2 separate regions of the Homo sapiens genome follow, and region 2 is linked to region 1. The links are contacts of gene promoters, found by promoter capture Hi-C in human tissues and cell types (Jung and others, 2019). All regions are on one chromosome and are shown on one strand. The core of a region is centred on a gene start or on the middle of the fragment in contact, and the rest is flanking DNA. Distances in the headings are between cores, read along the strand shown. Region 1 holds the start of CABP7 (calcium binding protein 7). Region 2 holds the start of NF2 (NF2, moesin-ezrin-radixin like (MERLIN) tumor suppressor).

Region 1 (4,718 bases), core at 750-3,249:
GGAGGAGAAGGCCTATGCTCCATCTCCTGACCTTTCGCCCCCCACCATCGTACCCCTCCTTTCCCCGGGCTCTGGAGGAGGCTCTGGCCCTGGGTTTTAGGGGTGAATGGTGAGGTCATGTCGGGGGGCCCCAATCATCCATCTGTCCTGTCCGCATCAGACCCCAGACCCTGTCTCCACAGCTCTCCCCGCTTCTGAGGGTTTGCAGGGGCAGTTGGTGAGGAGCCTGGTGGCTCATGCCTATGGTGCAGTGAGCGAGGCAGAGGCTGCCTTCTCTCTCTGGATCTTCCCCCGACCCATTCTGACTCCTCTAAGATCTGCCCTCACCCTGGGCCTGGGTTGAGGGAGGACCTCCCTCCATGGCTTCCCCTGGGCTCCCACCATCCTCCCTGACTGTGCTGGTCTTGGCTGCACCCTCCCAGGCCCTAATGAGCCTCCAGATCTCAGAGACCCCTGGATCCAAGGTACCCCGAGAGGCCCATCCTCTGGGTGAGCTCAGCCCCTTGCAACAGCAGACATGCAGATCCCAGGAGGCCGTGACCCCCATCAGCCCAGATCCCCCACTCCACTCCATATGGGGGCTCCAGGAGGTCTGGGGGGAGGGGAAACCTCAGCACCTCCCCCAGCCCAGCAGGGAAGGAGCTGGGCGGGCCCCAGGGGTCTCACTGCTCCTCAGGACACACTGTCCCGGACCCCTGCCCCTGCCCTCTGCTCTGACCTCGCCCAGCCAGCGGCCTGCCATCCCCCTGCGAGTCTGAGAGGCAGGGGGAACGGGGTGGGGGCGGGTTTGGGTCCTGGCCTCTCTGCCTTTCCCTTCCAGGCTTGGCTATCGCGACTTAGCCGCCCAGTCCGGCCACTTGTTGTCGCCACCGCCTCCCGGGCCGCCTTCCCGGCGCGCCGGGCTGGGGGTCCCCGCAGGGCTGCAGGGAAGGGGCTACGGCCGCAGGTGGGGACGGGGGCGGCCCCGCAGCGGGCAAGAGCAGGGCAGTCGCCCTCTCCCCTTCTGCTGCTGCCCGAGCAGATTGAATTTTTAAAGCGACACGAGCGGAATGTCAATGCGAGCAGAGAGCCGCGGGCGGGCGCCGCGGAGGGGATCAGGATGCGGGTGCTCCGGCCGGGCCGGCGCTGGGGGCTCAGCGCGGACCCCCGCCCCAGTCCGCCGCGTTGCCGCACCGTCACCGCCGACTGCGCGGCCCCGTGACCCCGCTGCGGGGCCCGGCAAGTTTCCGCAGCGCTGGGGACCACGCGGGCAGGGGCTGGGCCGCTCTCCGCCTGAGCGACCCCCACCGCGGCGCCCCGGGGTGCGGACAGGTCTTGCCGCGGGGCACAGCTGCTAGCTGGGGCGCCCACCTGGCAACCGGCACCTGCGGACCGCCCCCCGCCCCCCGCCCCCGCGCCCCTGGCCCGCGCTTCACCTGGGCGCACAGGTAGGAGGGCCGCCGGGGCGGGGATCCCGGCGGACACTCACCCTCCAGCTCGTCCTCCGGGATGTCCACCGGGCGCTGCTCCGACAGCAGGTTGGGCACGGTGTAGATGCCCCGGTACATCAACGCCGCCGTCACCGGGTGGAACGGCATCTTGGAGGCTCCGCGCCCGCCCGCCCGCCGCAAACTTTGAGGCCGGGGCTCATGGGCCGGTGGCGGCCCCGGGGGCGGCTGGAGCGGGCGGGGCGCGCGGCTGCGGAGGGCGGCGGCGGCAGCGGCGAGGCTGGGGACGCCCCTCCGGGGGCCTAGCGCCCCCGCGCCCCGGGCCGCCGGGCCATGCCGCCCGCTCCCTCGTCGGGCTCCCAGCCGGGGCCCCGCAGGGGCAGCGGGGGCGGCGCCGCTCTGGCCTTTCCGAGAGCTCCGGCTGCCTCGCGCGGTGCCCGCCGCGCCCGCTCCTCGGTGCCCCGCGCGCTCCGCGCTGCTCGCCGCCCGCTAGTCCGCTCGCCGGCGCGGCCGCTACCGGCCCGGCGCTCAGGCTGTAGCCGCCTCTCCGCTCGCTCGCTCGCTCGTTCTGTGCCGCGCTGGCTGCGCTCCCCGCCTCCCCCGCCAGCCGCCCGCCCGCCCCCTCCGCGCTCCCCACCCCCAGCCCGCCCCTTCCCGCCGCCGGCCCCTGAGCGGCCGCCCCAAACCTGCCCGGGGCTCCTTCTCCCCTTCGGCCCCGATTCCCCTTTCCCACTAGGGCTCCCCTCTGTTCACTGGCTCTCCTCACCCTAAGTCTGCAGCCACCAGGACCAGGGAGGGGGTGGGTTGCGGGGGTCCTCCTTCCTGCCCCTTGGCTCACCTTCCCCCATCCACGCACCAGGAGCGGAGAGCCCGGAACTAAGAACTGTAGACCCAGAGAGGTGAGACTGGCCCCAAGCACCTGGGTCCTCAAGAAGAGTCACCGTTTCCGTGCCAGGAGGATCCAAGGTGGGGAAACTGAGGCTGAGAGAGAAGGACGTTGACCAAGGTCACAGGGCAGGAGCAGCAGGTAAGAGCTGGGTACACGTCTGGGGTAGGCTTCCTGCCCTGCCTGTGACTGACACCCTGCCGCTGACCTTGCTCCCCACAATGGGGCCCCAGTCCCGGACCCTTCCCAAGCCCCTACCTTTCAGCTTGCAGAAGAGGAGCCAAAGTGTCTCATGGCCCCCAGGGCAGTTCGGGACAGAGACATGGCCCGGTGCCTGTGGGGTCTGGTGTGAGGGCCTGCCAGTTCACATGGCTGCAGCTCAGACCTAATGTATGTGCAGGGCTTCCCCAGGCCCCAGGGCACGTCGGCACCCCAGAGCTGGGGTGGGGGCAGGTGTTTGAGGGAGCAGCCTGCGTGTGCATATGTCTGCTATCCATGAGGGTGTGTATGTGCCACTGGGCACGTGCGCAGGTGTCTGTGACTCCATATGCAGATGGACAAATGTCGGGAGTGTGTGGCCACCTGTGTGTGCCAAGGTTGTACGCTGGCAGGTCGGGGGAGGTGTGCAGGCCCTGGGGCTGGGAGTGGTGTGGGCATATGGTGCACAGATGTGCATGGGAGGGGGTGACCTTCTGGCCTGGCTGTGGCCCCATCTCTGGGTGCTTCCCTGAATCCCCCTACTGGGACCACCTCCCTGCCCCCTTTGGCCCAATCAGCTAAAGGTCCCAGCAGGAACGCTGATTGCACAGCCCTGCCCGGTCCTGCCCTGCCCTTCCCAAGCTGATTACACTTTTCTGCTTGTTTCTGTTTTTGTTACTGATTAATCGCAGCCTTGTCTCAGGGTCTGGGGAGAAGGGGCTCAGTGAGAGATGCTAGCCCCAGCCAAGCGGGGTTGGGTCAGCCTGGGCCCAGCACTTCCTGGGCCCTGCTCTGGAGGGAGCTCCTAGAAACATCTATAACCTGCGGAGGAGCCAGGAAGGACACCAGCTGTCTGTCTGTCTCCCCAGACCTCTCCGGGCTAGCTGGTTGCCCACTGGGACCTGGGCCTGGAGGTGAGAGAGGCCCCAGAAAAGCTCCCACCCCACTCCAAAGCTCTCCTTGCCCACCTGTCCCATCTTCTGACCTTCCACCGCTAGAGCTGAATGCCTTGAGCTTCCCCAGTGTTTTTGATGGAGCAGAGACTTGAGGAAGTAAGAACCCAGCACCAAGAGCCAGGCAGACTGGGGCTTCTGCATCCACCATCTCCTCACCATGGAACTACAGTCAGGTCCCTTAACCGGCCATAGCCTCAGTTTCCCTGCCTGTTAAGGTGGCAGTGCCACATCCCAGGCAGCGGTGAGGATGAAGTGACATAATGTAGGAAAGGTGCCGGGCATCACCTCCCTGAAACTCTTGGGAGTTTCCTATTAGCATGAACATCCCCCCCAAGGAATAGGAATTAATAATAATTATAGCTTCGAGTATTGATTGAGAGAGCGAGCCGCAGCAGCAGCTCAGTCGTTCCACGTTTACTAAGTGTCCAGGCTGTGCCAGCCCAGGCCTGTCAGTTCTAAATCAGAACCCCTGGGCCAAGGGAGAGTGGGCTAGAGCCTGCTGAGAGGCTGGCAGGAAACCCAGCTCCCAGTGACTCCCTGGGAGGCCGCTGCAGAGCGTGTTGGTACTCGCCCTGTGAAGGGGAAGCTCCTGGGCTTGCTGTCCAGGTGGGTATTTTTTTTTATTTTTTTAGGTGGAGTCTTTCTCTGTTGCCCAGGCTGGATTGCAGTGGCATGATCTCGGCTCACTGCAACCTCCGCCTCCCAGGTTCAAGTTATTCTCATGCCTCAGCCTCCCGAATAGCTGGGACTACAGGCACATGCCATCACACCCAGCTAATTTTTGTATTTTTCGTAGAGAACATGTTGGCCAGGCTGGTCACAAACTCCTGACCTCAAGTGATCTACCCGCCTTGGCCTACTAAAGTGCTGGGATTACAGGCGTGAGGCACCACTCCCAACCCATGGTGGCTTTTTTTTTTTCAAGTCAAGGGAATTCCAGGGGTCAAGAGGAGGGTGGGCAAAAGCTCAGAAGTGTGAGAGGGCCTCTCTTAGCTCTGAAGGGCAGGTCTGGGTCTGGGTTCTCCAGATCTCCTACGCTTGGCACAGGACTGGAATGGGCTAAGGTGGCTGGGGCTGGATGAACATCTGTCAAATGAATGAACGAGAGAATTAGTGAATGAACGACTGCCCGCTCACCACCGCCCCCCGCCCTTCGGCATTGCAGCCCCGTCCTCTCCTCTGTGCGTCACGGGGGAGCAGATGGCATGATCACAGGGTGTGAATTATGTCTGTCGCTCCCCCATCTGGGGA
Region 2 (4,098 bases), core at 1,484-3,983, 120 kb after region 1:
CAAGAACTGGGGGATGAGCAATTGGGGCACCAGTAATTTCAGTATGTCATGTCCAAGGTACAGTCCTGTTCCACAAGTAGGGACTAGGTGGAAGAAGGGAGCTCCAACTTTTCGCAGGGCACAGTGGCTCACGCCTATAATCCCAACACTTTGGGAGGCCGAGGCAGGTGGATCACCTGAGGTAGGGAGTTCAAGACCAGCCTGACCAACATGGAGAAACCCTGCCTCTACTAAAAATACAAAATTAGCCAGACATGGTGGCGCAAGCCTGCAATCCCAGCTACTTGGGAGGCTGATGTGGGAGAATCGCTTGAACCCGGGAAGCAGAGGCTGCGGTGAGGCGAGATCACACCATTGCACTCCAGTTTGAGCAACAAGAGCAAAACTCCGTCTCAAAAGAAAAAAAAAGAGAGCTCCAACTTTCAATTGCACTCACACAGGTTTTAACCTCAGCAACAAGTAGCTCTAGGTAGGATGAGAAATGCTGATGTCCTGCTTTTCCTGGGAAGAAAGCATTTGATTGGGAGCTGGGGGAGCAGTGCCCGGTATTACAGTTTGCAATAGTCTGGAGTAGAAGCTCCACCTCACTAAGCTAGGAGTGAGTAAGGAGGGAATGATCTTGGTTCAAATACCATACCCTCTCATCTTTCTTACCGAATTTGTAGATTTTCTTGAATAGGTGTTTTTTCATTTGTTGTTTGCCCTCAGGACCATTGCCGGAGGGTTTAAATAGTTGATTTTAAAAAAAGAATTTTTGGGCCAGGCGTGGTGGCTGCATCTGTAATCCCATCACTTTGGGAGGCCAAGGCGAGTGGATTGCTTGAGCTCAGGAGTTCAAGATCAGCCTGGGCAACATGGCAAAACCCTGTCTTTACAAAAATTAGCTAGGTGAGGCTGGGCGGGGTGGCTCACATCTGTAATCGCACCACTTTCCCACCACTTTGGGAGGCCCAGGTCGGCTGGTCACGAGGTCAGGAGTTCGAGATCAGCCTGCCCAATATGGTGAAACCCTGTCTCTACTAAAAATAGAAAAATTAGCCAGACGAGGTGGCGCACGCCTGTAATCCCAGCTACCTGGAAGGCTGAAGCAGGAGAATCACTTGAACCTGGAAGTGGAGGTGGCAGTGAGACAAGATCGCGCCATTGCACTCTAGCCCGGTGCACTCTGGGTGACAGAGCGAGACTCCGTCTCAAAAAAAAAAAAAAAAAAAAAATTAGCCAGGTGTGGTGGCACACGCCTGTGGTCCCAGCTACTCGAGAGGCTGAGGCAGGAGGACTGATTGAGCCAGGGAGGTTGGTCAGGGTTGCAGTAAGCCATGATCACACTACTGCATGCCAGCCTCGGTGACAGAGTGAGATTCTGTCTCAAAACGAAACAAAACAAAAAAGAATTTTCACCAGTTTTACAGAGGAATGGGTTCCTTAAGCTGTCATGCTGGAAGCTGATCTTATCTAAGGCTGCTTTTGTGTTACAATGGTAGAGTTGAAGAGTTGAATAACTCCAACAGAGATTCTCTAGTCTACAAAGTTGAAAATATTTACTATGTGGTCCTGTACAGAAAAAGCATGCCAACCCTTGCTTACTGCTGCCAATGCTGCTGGTCCACAAACCACACTTTTAGCAGCAAGAACTTAAATTACTTGAGAAGCAGTACTGTACGGGCTGTGAGCTTGGTTCAAAACCCCACCTTGCCATTTACTAGATAAATGGGTTTGTTCTGAGGATTAAATGTGCAAATGTCTAGCACTTTGAAAATACTGAACAATTGATAGCTGTTATCATCATGTTGGAAACTATGTGGAAAGTAAGTATGAGATGTTATATCGTTCTTCAAAGGGTTTTTTTTCCCAGAATATGCAAGCTTTAGAAAAGGGAAACAAGTATTGGCTTTCCAATAAACAAGACGCAACTTCTAATACCTGGGTACATAACAATATTACCTAATGAAAGAATAAACTTTCAAGCTTTTAAGCGTAAGCCTAACTTAAGCCTGACACTGAAATCCTGAATTTTCTATCACAGGAGCATCCAGCTTCTTCCAATAACAATGAATGAAAATAACCTTCAGGAAATGCCAAAACCCAAAAGTCCTATGAAAAAAAGCAGCAATCATCTTTAACATGAGGTTTTGGGCCTAGTTGGCCCTTCCGGTTCTGCCCGTCTCTAGCTACACCCATAAGATGATATAAAGAGAACCTCTCGAGCTTCCACCTCGACTGTCACCGCAGCAGTCGGGGCTGCCGGCCGGTTACCTCGCAATTGAACTCCATCTCGGCGTCCATGGTGACGATCCTCACGGTGAACGTCTTGGGTTGCTTCCTCTTGAGAGAGCTGAAGCTCATGCGGGAAGCGATGGCCCCGGCCATGGCGCGGGGCTCAGGCCCGGGACCCTCGCGCCCCACGGCCTGCACTCTGAGCCCTTTAGCCCCCCTGGAGTTGCTGCACAGGCCTCAGGGCCACCATGGTGGCCGGCTGCCCGGCCCGGGAACGGTCTGGGCTGCGCGGGTCCCCAGCGGCCAGCATGGGCCGCGAGGACCCTGCCTGAGCGGAAAGGGGAGTTGGGGGACGGGCCCTGACGGCTGCAGGGAGGGCACAGGAGCCGGGACCTTCGGTGCAGGCGCGACCCGGCACTCCGGGATTCGGGCCGGAGATGCCGGGGACGCCTCGGGACGGGACCCCTAGACGGCAGCGGCCCAGACTCCGCGCGCCTCTCAGCGGCCGACTAGGGTCACGGGGCCGCGCTGCATCGGGCGCGTACGCGCGCGCGTGGCTGTCACCGTCCTCACTCCGCGCGCCCGCGGGAAGCGCACCCTCCCCACAGCCCGGGGCCTGCTCCCGGCCCCGCCCTCAGGTCGCCCAGACCACTACGCGCAGCGCAACCGAACCGGAGGCTGACGCATAGATGCTGCGATTGGCTGGGAAGGCCAAGGTAGGCAGGACTTTCCCGCTCCGTCCCGCCTCCTTTGGGGTGACTCCACCAATGGAAAGTTTCACTCTAACTGCAAAAAAAGCAGGCCTAGGCTCGGCGTTGAGTGGCTACAGTGGCAGTCACTCTGAATGCTTTTGTGCCTACTCTAACAAGACTGGTTGAGGCGGCGGACCTCTGCTGACCTTACCCGGGAAACCACTTAGAGGCTGGATCCGGGGCGAGGGGAATTGGGTCCTTCGTTGGCCCAGGGAGGGACTCTTCGGTTCAAGTAGGCTCCGAGTGTGGCGCCCCAGGGGACTGCGTTTCGGACACACGGCGAATATTCTTCTTTGGCAGTTAATCACATATACCGACCCCTATGAAACTTTAAAGACACTTGTGGAGGCCTGTTAGGTTTGCTGGCACTTTCCCGCCAGATCCCTCTGCTTCCCTTTAGAATTATTATTATTATTGTTATTATTATTATTATTAATTATTATTATTATTGGGACGGAGTTTCGCTCTTGTTGCCCAGGCTGGAGTGCAGTGGCGCGATCTCGGCTCACTGCAACCTCCGCCTCCCGGGTTCAAGCGATTTTCCGGCGTCAGCCTCCCGAGTAGCTGGGATTACAGGTATGCGTCACCACGCCCGGCTAATTTTGTATTTTTATTAGAGACGGGGTTTCTCCATGTTCGTCAGGCTGGTCTCGAACCTCAGGTGATCCGCCCGCCTCGGCCTCCCGAAGTGCTAGGATTACAGGCGTGAGCCACCACGCCCCGCCTAGAATTATTATTGGTTATACCTACCTCGTGAGGTTGTTGAATTTCAGCGCACTGAATACATATAAGGCTTTAGAGCTGAGCCTGGCATCCTATGAAATTGCTGAATTTGGGTTGAAAATGAAAGCATTCTTTATTTTATACTCTATGATGCCCATTTTTGAACCGTATTCATGTATTATTTATTTAGTGTCATCAAGGGTTCTAACGGGTGTAGGGGGGATAATTACACCTTTCTGTACTTAGATAATAAATTCTATTTTAAAATAGCTCTTAGTAGTCAAATAGGGACAATTTACTGTGTTTTTTCGTTTGTTTTTTGTTTTGAGACAGAGTTTCGCTCTTGTTGCCCAGGCTGGAGTACAATGGGGCGGTCTCGGCTCTCTGCAACCTCCGCCTCCCGGGTTCA

What was found. The method cuts DNA at HindIII sites, captures the fragments that hold promoters and counts their contacts. A contact is called where the count stands out against the background at its distance.
Region 2: a contact is called between the fragment with the promoter of NF2 here and the fragment with the promoter of CABP7 in region 1, in 5 of the 25 tissues and cell types used here (adrenal gland, dorsolateral prefrontal cortex, liver and 2 more).

What each region holds. Positions count from the first base shown.
Region 1 is chr22:29,717,284-29,722,001 of GRCh38, reverse strand. CABP7 (calcium binding protein 7) reads right to left here and starts at 1,999. Exons shown (of 5, transcript NM_182527.3): 1 at 1,469-1,999. The coding sequence starts at 1,577. It overlaps CABP7-DT (CABP7 divergent transcript), which reads left to right and starts at 2,099. Exons shown (of 3, transcript NR_186695.1): 1 at 2,099-2,454. RefSeq lists an enhancer at 1-690. The HindIII fragment of the contact is 29,567 bases long and covers 1-4,718 here.
Region 2 is chr22:29,602,268-29,606,365 of GRCh38, reverse strand. It overlaps NF2 (NF2, moesin-ezrin-radixin like (MERLIN) tumor suppressor), which reads right to left and starts at 2,733. Exons shown (of 16, transcript NM_000268.4): 1 at 2,254-2,733. The coding sequence starts at 2,367. RefSeq lists enhancers at 1-10, 3,218-3,347 and a silencer at 2,388-2,967. The HindIII fragment of the contact is 17,440 bases long and covers 1-4,098 here.